2 separate regions of the Homo sapiens genome follow, and region 2 is linked to region 1. Evidence: promoter capture Hi-C in 16 types of primary human blood cells and fetal thymus (Javierre and others, 2016). All regions are on one chromosome and are shown on one strand. Each heading gives the region's core, a stretch centred on a gene start or on the middle of the fragment in contact. The rest is flanking DNA. Distances are from core to core; before and after follow the strand shown. Region 1 holds the start of RTKN (rhotekin). Region 2 overlaps STAMBP (STAM binding protein).

The links. The method cuts DNA at HindIII sites, captures the fragments that hold promoters and counts their contacts. A CHiCAGO score of 5 or more calls a contact.
Region 2: a contact is called between a fragment that was not itself captured here and the fragment with the promoter of RTKN in region 1, in 2 of 17 cell types (naive CD8 T cells and naive CD4 T cells). The highest score is 5.5, in naive CD8 T cells.

The regions. Positions count from the first base shown.
Region 1 is chr2:74,437,823-74,445,556 of GRCh38, reverse strand. It overlaps RTKN (rhotekin), which reads left to right and starts at 3,620. Exons shown (of 12, transcript NM_001015055.2): 1 at 3,620-3,851. The coding sequence starts at 3,741. RefSeq lists silencers at 3,530-3,609, 3,920-3,979, 4,695-5,004 and an enhancer at 5,432-6,169. The HindIII fragment of the contact is 8,784 bases long and covers 1,151-7,734 here.
Region 2 is chr2:73,845,472-73,850,310 of GRCh38, reverse strand. STAMBP (STAM binding protein) reads right to left here. Exons shown (of 10, transcript NM_213622.4): 5 at 2,558-2,924; 6 at 824-948. All of the region lies in intron 1 of LOC112268419 (a long non-coding RNA gene), which reads left to right. Among named protein-coding and RNA genes, the nearest start is that of STAMBP, 19 kb to the right of the region's middle. The HindIII fragment of the contact is 1,702 bases long and covers 2,458-4,159 here.

The DNA of each region.
Region 1 (7,734 bases), core at 2,371-4,870:
TATATATAATATAATATAATATAATCCTGATCATGTCCCTCCTTCCCAAAAATCTTCAGCCACATTGAGTACAAACTCTCAGGCAGGATTTGAGCTCAACCTCCTTTTTGAAGATCCTCCATTCCTCTGCCTCCTTCCTGGGTCTCAGGCCAGGGGTTTTCAAACCCGTCCACAGAGCTTGTGTTCACTGGGGGAGCAGGGAGCAGCTGAGCACCTGTGGGTAGACAAGGCATGAGGCTCTAGCACCTGCTCCCATCATAGCAGCTCTGATTTGATTTCACACATTTCAGGTAAGATTTCATTAAAAAAAAAAGGTTCTGTTGCTTAAAAACAAACATTTGAAATGAACTATCTTAGTCCAACAGGATGGCACATCTCAGTCAAGGACTCTCAAATCTGTTTGCTTCTCTTTTATTTACTTCAACTGATGTTTATTGATCACTTGCTATGTCCCAGGCACTGGGGATAAGACAGACTGCCCCTCCCTAGAAGGCTTACAGTTCAGAGGAGTGATGATGAATATTTGAATAAATTAAGGAACAATATCTTTCCCTTTCTTTCCCCTCACACGTCTTTTGTGGTTAATCTCAGATGCCATGGACTTTATAAATCTTTTGATCTGCCTTTCCTACTGACCAGAAGAACTCCCTTCTCCATATAAAATTTTGTGTGTGGAGGATGTTGGTTGTTTTTCCTGTTCATTTTCCATTCTCTCACCTTCTGGTGGTAGTGGTTGGAACATTCTTTGGGGAACAACCCTCCCCCACCTTCTCCCTCCCAGTTCACTGGGTTCTGGTTAGTCTCCAGGAGTGGGCAAGTGACCCCAAGCCTGGCCAGCTGGCACCTAGAACCTCCTTAGCCACAGCAATTGGTTCAGATCTGGCCACCGTCTGACTCCAATGATTGGTTTGGGATGGATGAATGATCACAAATGTCTCACAGCGAATCCCAGACGTGTAGGAGCCTCAGGAAACAGATGCTCTCTTTTCAGCTGAATTTAAGCCTGAAAAGATATAGACCCAGAATTTTGGGCAGCAATTTCGTTACACTGTGGAGAGTGAAGCCAACGTGGAGGAAAGTAGAGCCAAGTGATGGGAAGAGACTGGATATTCCTGACACTCAATGAGTGGGTTAAGCCACATCTAAAGCTTGACCCCTGGCTCATTTGTTTGTATTGGCTCAGTTCCAGGAGCCGATGCATTTCCCCTTTTGCTTTAGTACTTTTCAGTCAGCTTTTCCAAAAGAATGTTGAAATGATTTGCCATAGCAAAACATTTCTAATCTGGACTCTCTAAGAGCTCAAGACTGGTATGTCTCTGGGTCCAGCCAGCCTGCCATGTAGGAGTCTCACCCTTTCTCAAGTTCTGTGTTCTGAAGCCTTCAGGAGATCTGTTTATGTGTGATCAGCAAGTTAATCCTTTGCCATTTCCTTCTCTTCCACTGGGCTTTCCCCAGAGGGGGCAAGAAGGGAACCCTGTTTTTTGTTTGTTTGTTTGTTTGTTTGAGACAGAGTCTCGCTCTGTCGCCCAGGCTGGAGTGCAGTGGCACGATCTCGGCTCAGTGCAAGCTCCGCCTCCCAGGTTCAGGGCATTCTCCTGCCTCAGCCTCCTGAGTAGCTGGGACTACAGGCGCCCGCCACCATGCCCGGCTAATTTTTTTGTATATTTAGTAGAGACGGGTTTTCACCGTGTTAGCCAGGATGGTTTCGATCTCCTGACCTCGTGATCTGCCCCCCTTGGTCTCCCAAAGTGCTGGGATTACAGGCGTGAGCCACCGCGCCTAGCGGGAACCCTGTTTTTATGGAAGCAGGGAGTGGTAAGTCCAGCCGGGCAAGTCCAGCCATCCAGCAAAGCAGCTGATTATATCTATATCTATCTATATCTATATCTATATCTATATCTATATCTATATCTATATCTATATCTATATCTATATCTATCTATATCTATATCTATCTATAGATAGATAATATTGGCCAGGCGTGGGCCACGCCTGAAATCCCAGCACTTTGGGAGACCAAGGCGGGTGTATCGCCTGAGGTCAAGAGTTTGAGACCAGCCTTACCAACATGGTGTAACCCCATCTCTACTAAAAATACAAAAATTAGCCAGATATGGTGGCAGACGCCTGTAATCCCAGCTACTCCGGAGGCTGAGGCAGGAGAATCGATTGAACCCAGGAGGCAGAGGTTGCAGTGAGTCGAGATCATGCCATTGCACTCCAGCCTGGGTGACAGAGTGAGACTCTGTCTTAAAAAAAAAAAATTAAAATAAATAAATAAATAAATAAATAAAAATAAAAAATTATACATATTTGTAATGCTTTTTAAGAGATGGGGTCCCACTATGTTGCCCAGGCTGGACTTGAACTTTCGGGCTCAAGCAATCCTCCCACCTTAGCCTCCCGAGTAGCTGGGACTACAGGTGTGCACCACCATGCCAGGCCAATTTGTGTGTGTGTGTGCGTGTGTGTGTGTGTTTTGTTGAGACAGGGTTTCATGTTGCCCAGGCTGGTCTCCAACTCCTGAGCTCAAGAGCGATCAGTCCCCCTTGGCCTCCCAAAGTGCTAGGATTACAGGCTTGAGCCACTGCACCCAGCCATCTTTTTTTTAGACGTAGTTTCGCTCTTGTTTCCAAGGGTGGAGTGCAATGGTGGGGTCTCAGCTCACCACAACCTCTGCTTCCCGGGTTTAAGCGATTCTCCTGCCTCAGCCTCTCAAGTAGTTGGGATTACCGGCATGTGCCACCATGGCCGGCTAAATTTTGTATTTTTAGTAGAGATGGGGTTTCTCCATGTTGGTCAGGCTGGTCTCGAACTCCCAACCTCAGGTGATCCACCCTCCTAGGCCTCCCAAAGTGCTGCGATTACAGGCGTGAGCCACCGCGCGCAGCTGCTCTTTATGACTGCAAATATGGGGCACTTGCCTTGTGCCAGGCACTATGCTGGGCATTTTACCCTCATTCTTATAGGTAATCCTCATAGCAACTTGAGGAGTGGAGATAATTACAGTATTCCCACTGAACAAATGAGAAAACTGAAGCTCAGAAAGGCCAGTGACTGGACCAAGTTAATGATTGCACGGTTAGTTAGTGACAGAGCTGGGGTTTCACGACGTGTTTAAGCACCGCCCCATCAGTTGTGGCCACTAGGCTTAGGCGGATAGCCTCGCAGAGGAGCCTAGGTGGGGAGGGGGACGAAGAAGGAACATTTGGGACTGTGGGATGTTGAAATGGTCTCTTCGGAGGCTGCCGGGATTGAAACTGGGCAAGGTCCCAGGGCCCGAGTAGAGCCAGAGCGTGCTACGCGGCGATCCCTGAGCCACGGGGTTTTCAGCGCCCGGGAAGCCAGGCTTGCCAGGTTGGGGCGGCTGGCGGGGCAGGGCTTCTCGGTCCGTCCCAAGTCCAGGTAGGCGCTCGCGACCCGCGCGGGCAGGGAGAACGCGCTCCCACAGTGCTCGCGAGGTGCAGTGCGCCCCTGGGGGCTCCGGGGCCGTCGGGCCAGGTCGGCTTGGCGCCCAGGGACTGGCCGGACGGGCTGGGCCTTTGGCGGGGGTGGAAGAGGAGGTTGCCGCGCCCTGCCCGGCCCAGGTGTCGTCTCCGGGGGCGGGGTTTGGAGCCCCGCAGCGGGAGATTCCCGGCCGGACTGGCGGACGAGCGTCGAGAGACAGAAGCCGAGGAGAGGAGGCTAAGCCGGGCGGCGCGGGGAGCGCACTGAGCAGGCAAAGTCGCAGGGCCGCCAGCATGTTCTCCCGAAACCACCGGAGCCGGGTCACCGTGGCCAGGGGCTCCGCCCTGGAGATGGAGTTCAAACGCGGCCGCTTCCGACTCAGCCTCTTCAGCGACCTGCCCGAGGTGAGAGACTCGCGTCCCTGCCTTCCCCTTCCGCGGCTCCCGGGGGCAGCCCCAGCCACCTCGGCCTCCTTCCCTCGCCCGCGTGCACGCCGAGGGGCGGAGACGCACGGTCTGGGTACAAACCCGACGGAGTTGTTGACTTAAAAAGTAAGGTGTGGACGGTCTGCATTTTCATCGGATCCATGCTGCCCATTCCGCGGCCTGGTTAGGATTATCTGCCTGAGCCTGGAAAAAGCCCGGGTTGGTCTCAATTTGTAGGGCCCCAGCTCGACTCCTAAAATGTGCCTGAACCCCAAAATGTCTTGGGCATCCCCGGGCCAAGGGCGGTGGGCAGCTAGGCGGGCCCCAAGCGCTCGGACTCTTGGCCTGGGCTCCCGCTTGTTCCCCAGTCGCCAGCCCCATCCCACAACCTGTCGCAGCCATCTGGGCCAGCCTCTGTCATCAACCCCGACTTTAGGCCGGGGCCGCTCGCTTCCCCGAAGCCCAATTCAAAGGCTCCTCTATGCCCCTGCAGGGCTTTTAACTCCTTGGGGTTACTTCCCACACGCAAAATTTCCGCCTCCTTTTCTGGGGCCTAAGAGGAGTCCAGCCCCTAGGCTGAGCGTTTCCCCCGTCCGCCGTCCACGCGTTAACCTGTTGGATCCCCACCTGTAACGCCCTAAGGGCTAGGGCGGGGCTGAAGGTGTGTGGTTGAGCGGGGACTGAGAGGGCGAATAGCTACCCCGAAGACTCTTCTGTCCCCAAGGTCAGACTCACACTCGCCCAAGGAGAGCCCAGTTCCAAGCCTTCCCTTCCGGGTCTGGAAAGGGTTAAGTGAGGTGGGCCTTCCTTCCGCCCCCTCTACCTCCCGGCTGGGATTCCAGGCCTGGCTTCTGCCCTTTCCCTCCAGCCTGCCCAGAACAAAGAGGCTCTTTCACACCCTTGTCCCGGCGTCCCGGGCCTTCTCTGACTCAGAAGCTAGTGGACCTGGGGAGAGGGGGCCTTTGTCGCGTCCCCTTGCCCCCAAGCGACTGGGCCCGAGGAACCCGCGTGGGGCCAGCGTGGGGGAGTAAGGGGCGAGGCCCGGGACCAGGGGGAGGGGCCTGTGAGCTGGGGCCGCCCCTGGGATTAGCCCGGCCTTCGGGGACAGCTCGGAGGAGCTGGGGCGGAGCCGCAGGGCCTGGCGGCCGCCGAGTGAAGTGTGACTCCGTGGGCCTGGCGTGGAGGCGGGGGCGCTAGGCTGCAGCTGGCTCGGAATCGGGGCTGGTTTCCTGTCTGGAAGGGAAGGGGCCTGCAGAAGGGAGCGGGGACAGCAGCAGACAGGCACACCCCTGCCTTCCTCTCTCCCTCTCCTCCCTTCTCTGGAAAAGCGAGGTAATTGTGAGCCCAGGGTGGAGCGGGCTGGATGGGGGCCCTGAGTTGGAAGGGGTGGCCCTAGGGCTGGGCTGCTTTGCCAACTCACCCCTTTGTCCCATTCCCTGGGCTCACTCTCCCCTGAGGTCCTCACCTGTGTGGCTCTTTTTCCCAACTTTCTCAAACTAAGCTGGAACCCCTCTCGGGAAGCTCCAACCTCCTGCAAACCCCATGACTCTAGAACCTGCATGAGGCGTCGTTTCCCTGCCCCCTTCCAGTTGTGCCTGCCCCTCACTGCCCTCTCCGCACACAGATTCCCTGTCCACCAGGCCAGGGATGTGGGCGGGGGCTGGGGAGCGGCCAGAGTCGGAATGAAAGGGCCTTTTTCTTCCACAGCTGGGAGAACAGCTGCCACCAAAGCGAGACTGGACACTCTGTGCCTAGAGCCCCCTCTGCAGCTGGCCTTTCCTCCTGGGACCCCACTTATCCTCACTTCGCTTTCTTTTTCTTCCCTGCCTGGCTCCCGGCAGGGCCCCGGAGCAGCAGTGGGCGAGGAAAATTTGTCACAGCAGCCAGAGGGGTTTAACAGGAGTGCAGAGGGATAAGGGCAGCTTCTGCCCTCTGCCCAAGAGCTGGCCACCTCTTTAAAGACTGAGGGAACAGTGGGAGGAGGAACTGTGGGACAGTGTGGTACCTATCTGTCCCCCCTCTGGAGGGGTTGACAAGGGAAAGGGCACCGGGGGGCACAGAGATGCAGGACAGATTGCACATCCTGGAGGACCTGAATATGCTCTACATTCGGCAGATGGCACTCAGCCTGGAGGTAATCCCCCGACCCTTGGAGTACACACCTCCTTCACTTGCATCCCAGCCCCAATCTCTGCCCTGCCCATTCCTGCTACAGCATGGTGGGGAGAGCCAGGCCTGCTTAAAGTGGGAAGAGGGACAGGTGGTTCCCTATGCCTTGTGTTGGGTGCAGTGTGTGGACCCAGGCTCAGTTCTGCCCATCATAGTCTTATGTTTGCAGCAGGGTCTTTACACCTATTTCAGGAAGCTCTGTGGGTGAGTGTAAATGTCTGTTCTGGGGACAAGGGTTCCTTTTAGGCATGGGAAGAAGAGAGGAGTTCAATGTGAGAGAGGTTTACAGAAAGGATGTAGCCTTGCTAGAGAAGAGAAGGACTCTGGGCTATGAGTAAGGATTCTGCTGGCCCTTGAGACAGCAAGGTGCTGTTTATTCGTGTATTTGTTTTTTTCAATTCTTTACAGAGACGAGGTCTCACTATATTGCCCAGGCTGGTCCTGGCTCAAGTGATCTCCCTACCTCGACCTCCCAAAATGCCGAGATTACAGGCGTGAGCCACTGCACCTTGCGCTATGTATTATTAAACACATGTAAATTTTATGTACTATCTGCCAAGCTCTTTTCGACCATAGGATACCTCAGTGAATAAGACAAGAAAGTTCCATTGTAGTGGGAGAACAGAAATATACATACGAACACATAAATAATATCACATAAAGAAATTATGATGAAAATGGGGATGTAATGAAAATCAGATGAGGGAGGCAATGTTAGATGTGGAGGTCAGGGGAAGCCTCTGTTGGGAGATCTTTGAGCTAAGCCCAGGAGGATTTGGAGATATGTGAAGACTGGAGGAAGGGCAAAGGCCCTGATATGAGGATGAGGGTAATATATTTGTGGGAAAGAGAGAGCCAGTGTGGCTGGAATATAGTAGTTGGGGTGGAGCTGATGGGCAGGGGCCAGATCATGCAGGGCCTTGAAGGCCATGATAAGGCACCTGGATTTCACCTTAAGTGTGATGTTGGGCCATGGAAGGGTTTTAAGCAAGGGAATGACTCATGCCATGTTTTTAAATGATGGCTGCTATGGAGAATAGGCTGGTGGGAAGTTGAGGGTAGGGTTGGGGGTGGAGGGTTGGCAAGAGAGTTCGCAAATGTCCACCAGGTGGGAGGCTGTTTCACTCCCACTTCAGGTGGGAGTGAACCTGGTGGTGTGAATTAAAATGCTCATGGTGGAGAAAGGGAGTAGATTTCAAATGGTGGTGGTAGGTCTGACAGGATTTGCTGATGGATTGGATGGGAGGGCAAAGAAAGAGAACTCCAGGATGATTCCCAGGTATGTGGCTAAGCAACTGGGTGGTGTGGCTGTTTACGGAGATGGGGAAGATGGAGGAAGTTGTGGAAGTGACTGCCTGGACCAGGCAGGGGCTGCTGCTGAGAGGTCAGAGGCAGGACTGCAAAGAGTCTAGATCAGGAATGGCAGGATATTGTATGTGCTGTCCCCCCTCAAGCCCTGCCCCCACTCCCTGGATCATAGTAGATGTTACTGGTCAATTTTGGCACTCTTTATCAACGAGCCCAGACCTGGCCTCAGAATCTTTCTCAGGACCGTCTTGGCATAAACTGTGCAGGTTGTGTCCTTCACACAGGTGCCAGCCAGAGGTGAGAGTCCTGGTCTGGTTTCAGCGGCATCAGGAGGGAGCACGTTTATCTAATTTGTTTGCCTGGAGAGGGTCAGCTTTTTCTAATT
Region 2 (4,839 bases), core at 2,059-4,558, 590 kb after region 1:
CCGACAGTGGAAAGGTAAGCATCTATACAAGTGAAAGCCCTTCCCACACAGCAGGAGTCCTGCCACTCAGTGGTTCACAACCTTGGCTGCTGATGCACATTGCCTGGGGTACTCTGTACAGCGACAGATGCAGAGACCAACCCCAGAACTCTGCAGCCTGGGCAAACACCACAGCCCTGAGGGAATTTCCTGCTGTGCCAAACTGCTCTGCTGAGAAGCTCTGGGTAGAGTACCATTTCTCTTCCCTTGCTCAGGTCTAAAGTTGTTGTCCTGTCACTGTTTCCTTAAGCCCTTCTCATCCTGTAAGCCTCGGCTTACATTTACTCTACTTCATTTATTTATTCATTCAGCAGTAATGGGTTCTTTAAGTGCCTCCATTCAGTGACCTTTCCTTCCTCAAAATTCCCAATACTTATACTGTACATATTTTTCAGCATGCTGGTTAGACTTTAGTGCATGTCTGCCTTCTCTCCAAAGTGACTGGGCACTTTTCGTGGACACATACTATGTGCTTTACATATTTTATATTCCCAGGTCCTACCATAAAGTAGGTACCAAAAAAATTGATATGTAGATAATGACTGGATCTTCCTACCAAGTTTAAAATTAGGTATTTCTTACTACTAGCATTAAAATAACCACTTCAATTCAATCAATCAATACAGGGTCACCAAATTCAAAGTGACATGAAATTATGCAGTCCACGGTTCCTTGGTACAAAGAGTAACTGACCCTGGATATTTTCTCTGAGAGTCACAGGATGCCAAGAGGGGAAGAAACAGTTTCGGTTCAGAGAAGAGTTTGGTTTTTTTTTTCTTTTTACCAGTTTTCCACAGAGAATTCCACATGTCTCCACTCCCCGGGCAGTGTTGGCACTGGCTAACTGGAGAAACTGTGGGCACAGCCGCCCAGGCACCACCACATGGCGCAATCCATCGATTGTGGGAACTGTAAAGGAGAAAGGAGAATAGTCTGCGACCACTGAGCCCTGCCTCCTCAAGCAGACCTCACAGCCAGCAGCCCTGGAGGAGCAACATTAAGCCACTGGGATTCCCCCAACTTCAGGCAGTGAGTAGGGATCTCATTCTAATGGCACCAAAAAAAGGGCTGTAAAGTGTCTTCTCCAATCTTGGGCCACAGCTGTAAGGAGCACATTACTTCAAGAAGAGAAAATAGTAGGCTTTAATTATTCAAGTTAAGAAAAGGGCAAACTACTACCTTAAGAAAAGTTTTCTTAAAAATAACCTTAAGAATGTAATTGGATTGTTTGTAACTCAAAGGATAAATACTTGAGGGGATGGATACCCTATTCTCCATGATGTGCTTATTTCATATTGCATGCCTGTATCAAAACATCTCATGTACCCCATAAATACATACACCTACTATGTACCCACAAAAACTTAAAAAATAAAAGTAAAAAATAAAATTTAGGGGGGAAAAAGACACAAGTTCTTGAAACATTTGGGAATTTTCTGTCAGAATCTAATACAAAGAATTAAAAAAATAACCTCCCTGCTGTGGTTTGACTGTGTCTCCCAAAGTTCATGTTTTGGAAACTTAATTCCTAATGCAAAATTATTGAGAGGTAGGATCTTTAAGAGGTGATGAGGCTATGAGGGATCTTTGTTTGCCCTTCCACCCTTCTGTCGTGGGATGACGCAGCAAGAAGGCCTTTGCCAGGCCCCTGGGTCTTGGACTTTCCACTCTCCAGAACTATGAACCAAATAAATTTATGTTCATTATAAATTATCCAGCCTCAGGTATTCTGTTATAGCAGCACAAAATGGACTAAGACACTGCCCATTCATCTGAACTTTTAATTTTAAATCTCTTTTATCTCAGATAAGAATATCAGAGTATGACTTTAAAAGAAATACACTGGTGTATATTCTTGAGAATGGAAAACAATCTGGGCAGTTATTTACTTCTGAACTTACTCTTCTGGAAGAAGTTAAATGCCAAACCACAACAAAATAAAAAATACAGTGTAGTCCCCCAAAAAAGGCATGAACAAAGCAGCTCATAAAAAATGCCAAGAATGGACCCAGTTTCTGAACACCATGGAGAAACTCTGTGAGACAGCCAGCAAGCTAAAGTTAGGAAGTGTCTCTCACAGCTATATTTTCATATTTAAAAAAAAAAAGTGGGAGGGGAAAGATGTTCTGCTTTTGCGTATTCAACAGCAAGATCTGAATTGCTAGAGAGGTAACAAAGTCAGAGCAGGGGACACAGAGTCACACAGCAGTCTGATGATGTTATCTGAGGATTATGAATTCGGTTTGGCACATTCTTTTCCTTTCACTAAAAAGTTGACAGTCTGACTTTCAAGAATAATATTAGCTCTTCAGAAAATCGACCAGACTAGGTTTCAGCAAAGGCCACTTTTATAACATAGCCAGTGTATTAGGACACAGTACAGCAATACTTATCAGATGGGTTTCTGTGACCAAAGCTTAATGAGTGGGATCAGGGAGGTAATCTTAGGTTGACCCCGTCAGAATGATACTGTTTGGCTGCAACTGAGAAGGAAGAGGACATCAGCAAATGCACTTACTACTTTCTGAGTTGCTCAGTGCTCCAGGTTTCAAGGACCTGTCCACCACAGGTGGCTTAGCTGGCCTTACAGTTGTGTGACAGTCTGAAGGCTGTATGGATGAGACTGTTAAGGTGGGGAACACATCTAAGGAGGGCTTCTCCAAGTCAGGCACTAGCGGGCCACCTAGGCCAGGGTCTACCTTCCCAAACTCCTGTACAATTTTCAGTCGCTCTTTTTCTAGCTCCTGGTTCCGGATCATCTCCTCGAAGGCATGGAACTGTTCCTGTTCCAATTGCTGCTGCTTCTGTTGTGCTACCCTCTGTTTTTCCTTTTCCAGCTCTTGCTGGATGGCCATGTTCCGGGCCAATTCCTCTGCTTCCTTCTTCTACAAAGAGAGAAAATTTAGGCTAACACTTCACACCTCAGTGACTTCACACTTCAGGAGAACAAGGCTTTTTAGCATGGAGATTTCCAAAATGTACTTCTGCTGTGGCCTGATTACCTAACACAGAATTCATGCTTTCCTCAGTATCTTTATACCCACGGAGTGTAGTCACCACCCCTTTCTATCTGGCCACAGTATACCTATCTCCAAGGACAATTAAAATCCCAATCCTCTCAATACCCTCCCGACAATGACTCTACCTAATGCACTTTCCTCTTCACTGAAATCTTTTTTTTTTTTTTTTTGAGACAGGGTCTCATTCTGTTTCCCAGGCTGAAGTGCAATGGCATGATCACAGCTCACTGCAGCCTTGACCTCCCAGGCTCAAGCAATCCTCCCACCTTAGCCTCCTGAGTAGGTGGGACCACAGGTGTGCACCACCACACCTGGCTAATTTTTGTATTTTTTGTAGAGACAGGGTTTCGCCATGTTGCCCAGGCTAGTCTTGAACTCCTGGGCTCAAACAATCTGCCCACCTCGGCCTCCCGAAGCGCTGGGATTCCAGGTGTGAGCCACAATGTCTGGCCTGAAATCTTGATGCAACTTACTATCTGTGTTCTCCTAACCTGTATCACAGACAGTTTTATTCTTCTCTCTGTGTCATGTACATATTCTATATTTCAAGTAAGGCTATAAAATAGAACCAGATCCAAACTTATACCTGCTATCTTGGGGGTCTCTACTGAATTTTTTTTTTTTTTCTTAGAGAGTCTCACTCTGTCACCTAGGCTGGACTGTAGTGGTCAATCATGGCTCACTGCAGCCTCAATCTCCCTGGGCGCAGGTGATCCTCCCATCTCAGCCTCCCGAGTAGCTGAAACCAGAGGTGCGTGCCACCACACTAATTTTTGTATTTTTTGTAGAGACCCAGCTAATTTTTGTATTTTTTGTAGAGATGGGGTTTCACCATGTTGCCCAGGCTGGTCTCGAACTCCTGGGCTCAAGCGATCACCCACTTCAGGCTCCCAAAGTGCTAGGATTACAGGCATGAGCCACCACGTCTTGCCTTCTACTGAATTTTAACCCAAAATGAGGCCTCTGAAATTTTTATGGTTTTTGTGCATTTGTTCAACACAGAGTGACATTTTAAGCTAATAAGAAATACTTGAGAGGCATTTGGATTAAAAAAAAAAAGAAAGAAAGAAATGCTAAGTAATAACCTCCTCCTTAAAGCTTACACTCACTTGGTGCTTTAGAAGTATATACCTCATAGCTGTTCATCCCTCTGCTGATTTTCAACATCAGAGTCCAGAATAGAGACCAGCAGACAGCTACACAACAGCCTGTGAGTGGCTGCAGTATGTATTCACAGCTGGCCACTGACAGCGCCCTGGCAGTTTCTCCACATGTTTTAACTGACTTCCTAAAAAGAATCATTTGAAAATAGCTTGAAATGGCTGGGTGCAGCGGCTCACGCCTGTAATCCCAGCACTTTGGAAGGCCGAGGCAGGCGGATCACTTGAGGTCAGGAGTTTGAGACCATCTTGGCCAACATGGTGAAACCCCATCTCTACTAAAAATACAAAAATTAGCCGGGTATGGTGGCGGATGCCTGTAGTCCCAGTCACTCGGGAGGCTGAGGTAGGAGAATCACTTGAGTCGGGGAGGCAGAGGTTGCAGTGAGCTGAGATCGTGCCACTGCACTCCAGCCTAGGCGACAGAGTGAGACTGTCTCAAAAAAAAAAAAAAAAAATAGCTTGAAAAGTCAATTCTTATAAATAGCTTCAGGTATAACCAAATGTGAATCCAACCCTCAAATTCTCTGATCTAAAAACCTATGTTTTGGAGAGAATGTTCATTGTTCTTATGATTCTCACTCTAGACATAGCAGGTAGGCGACAGATTTTCTGTCCCT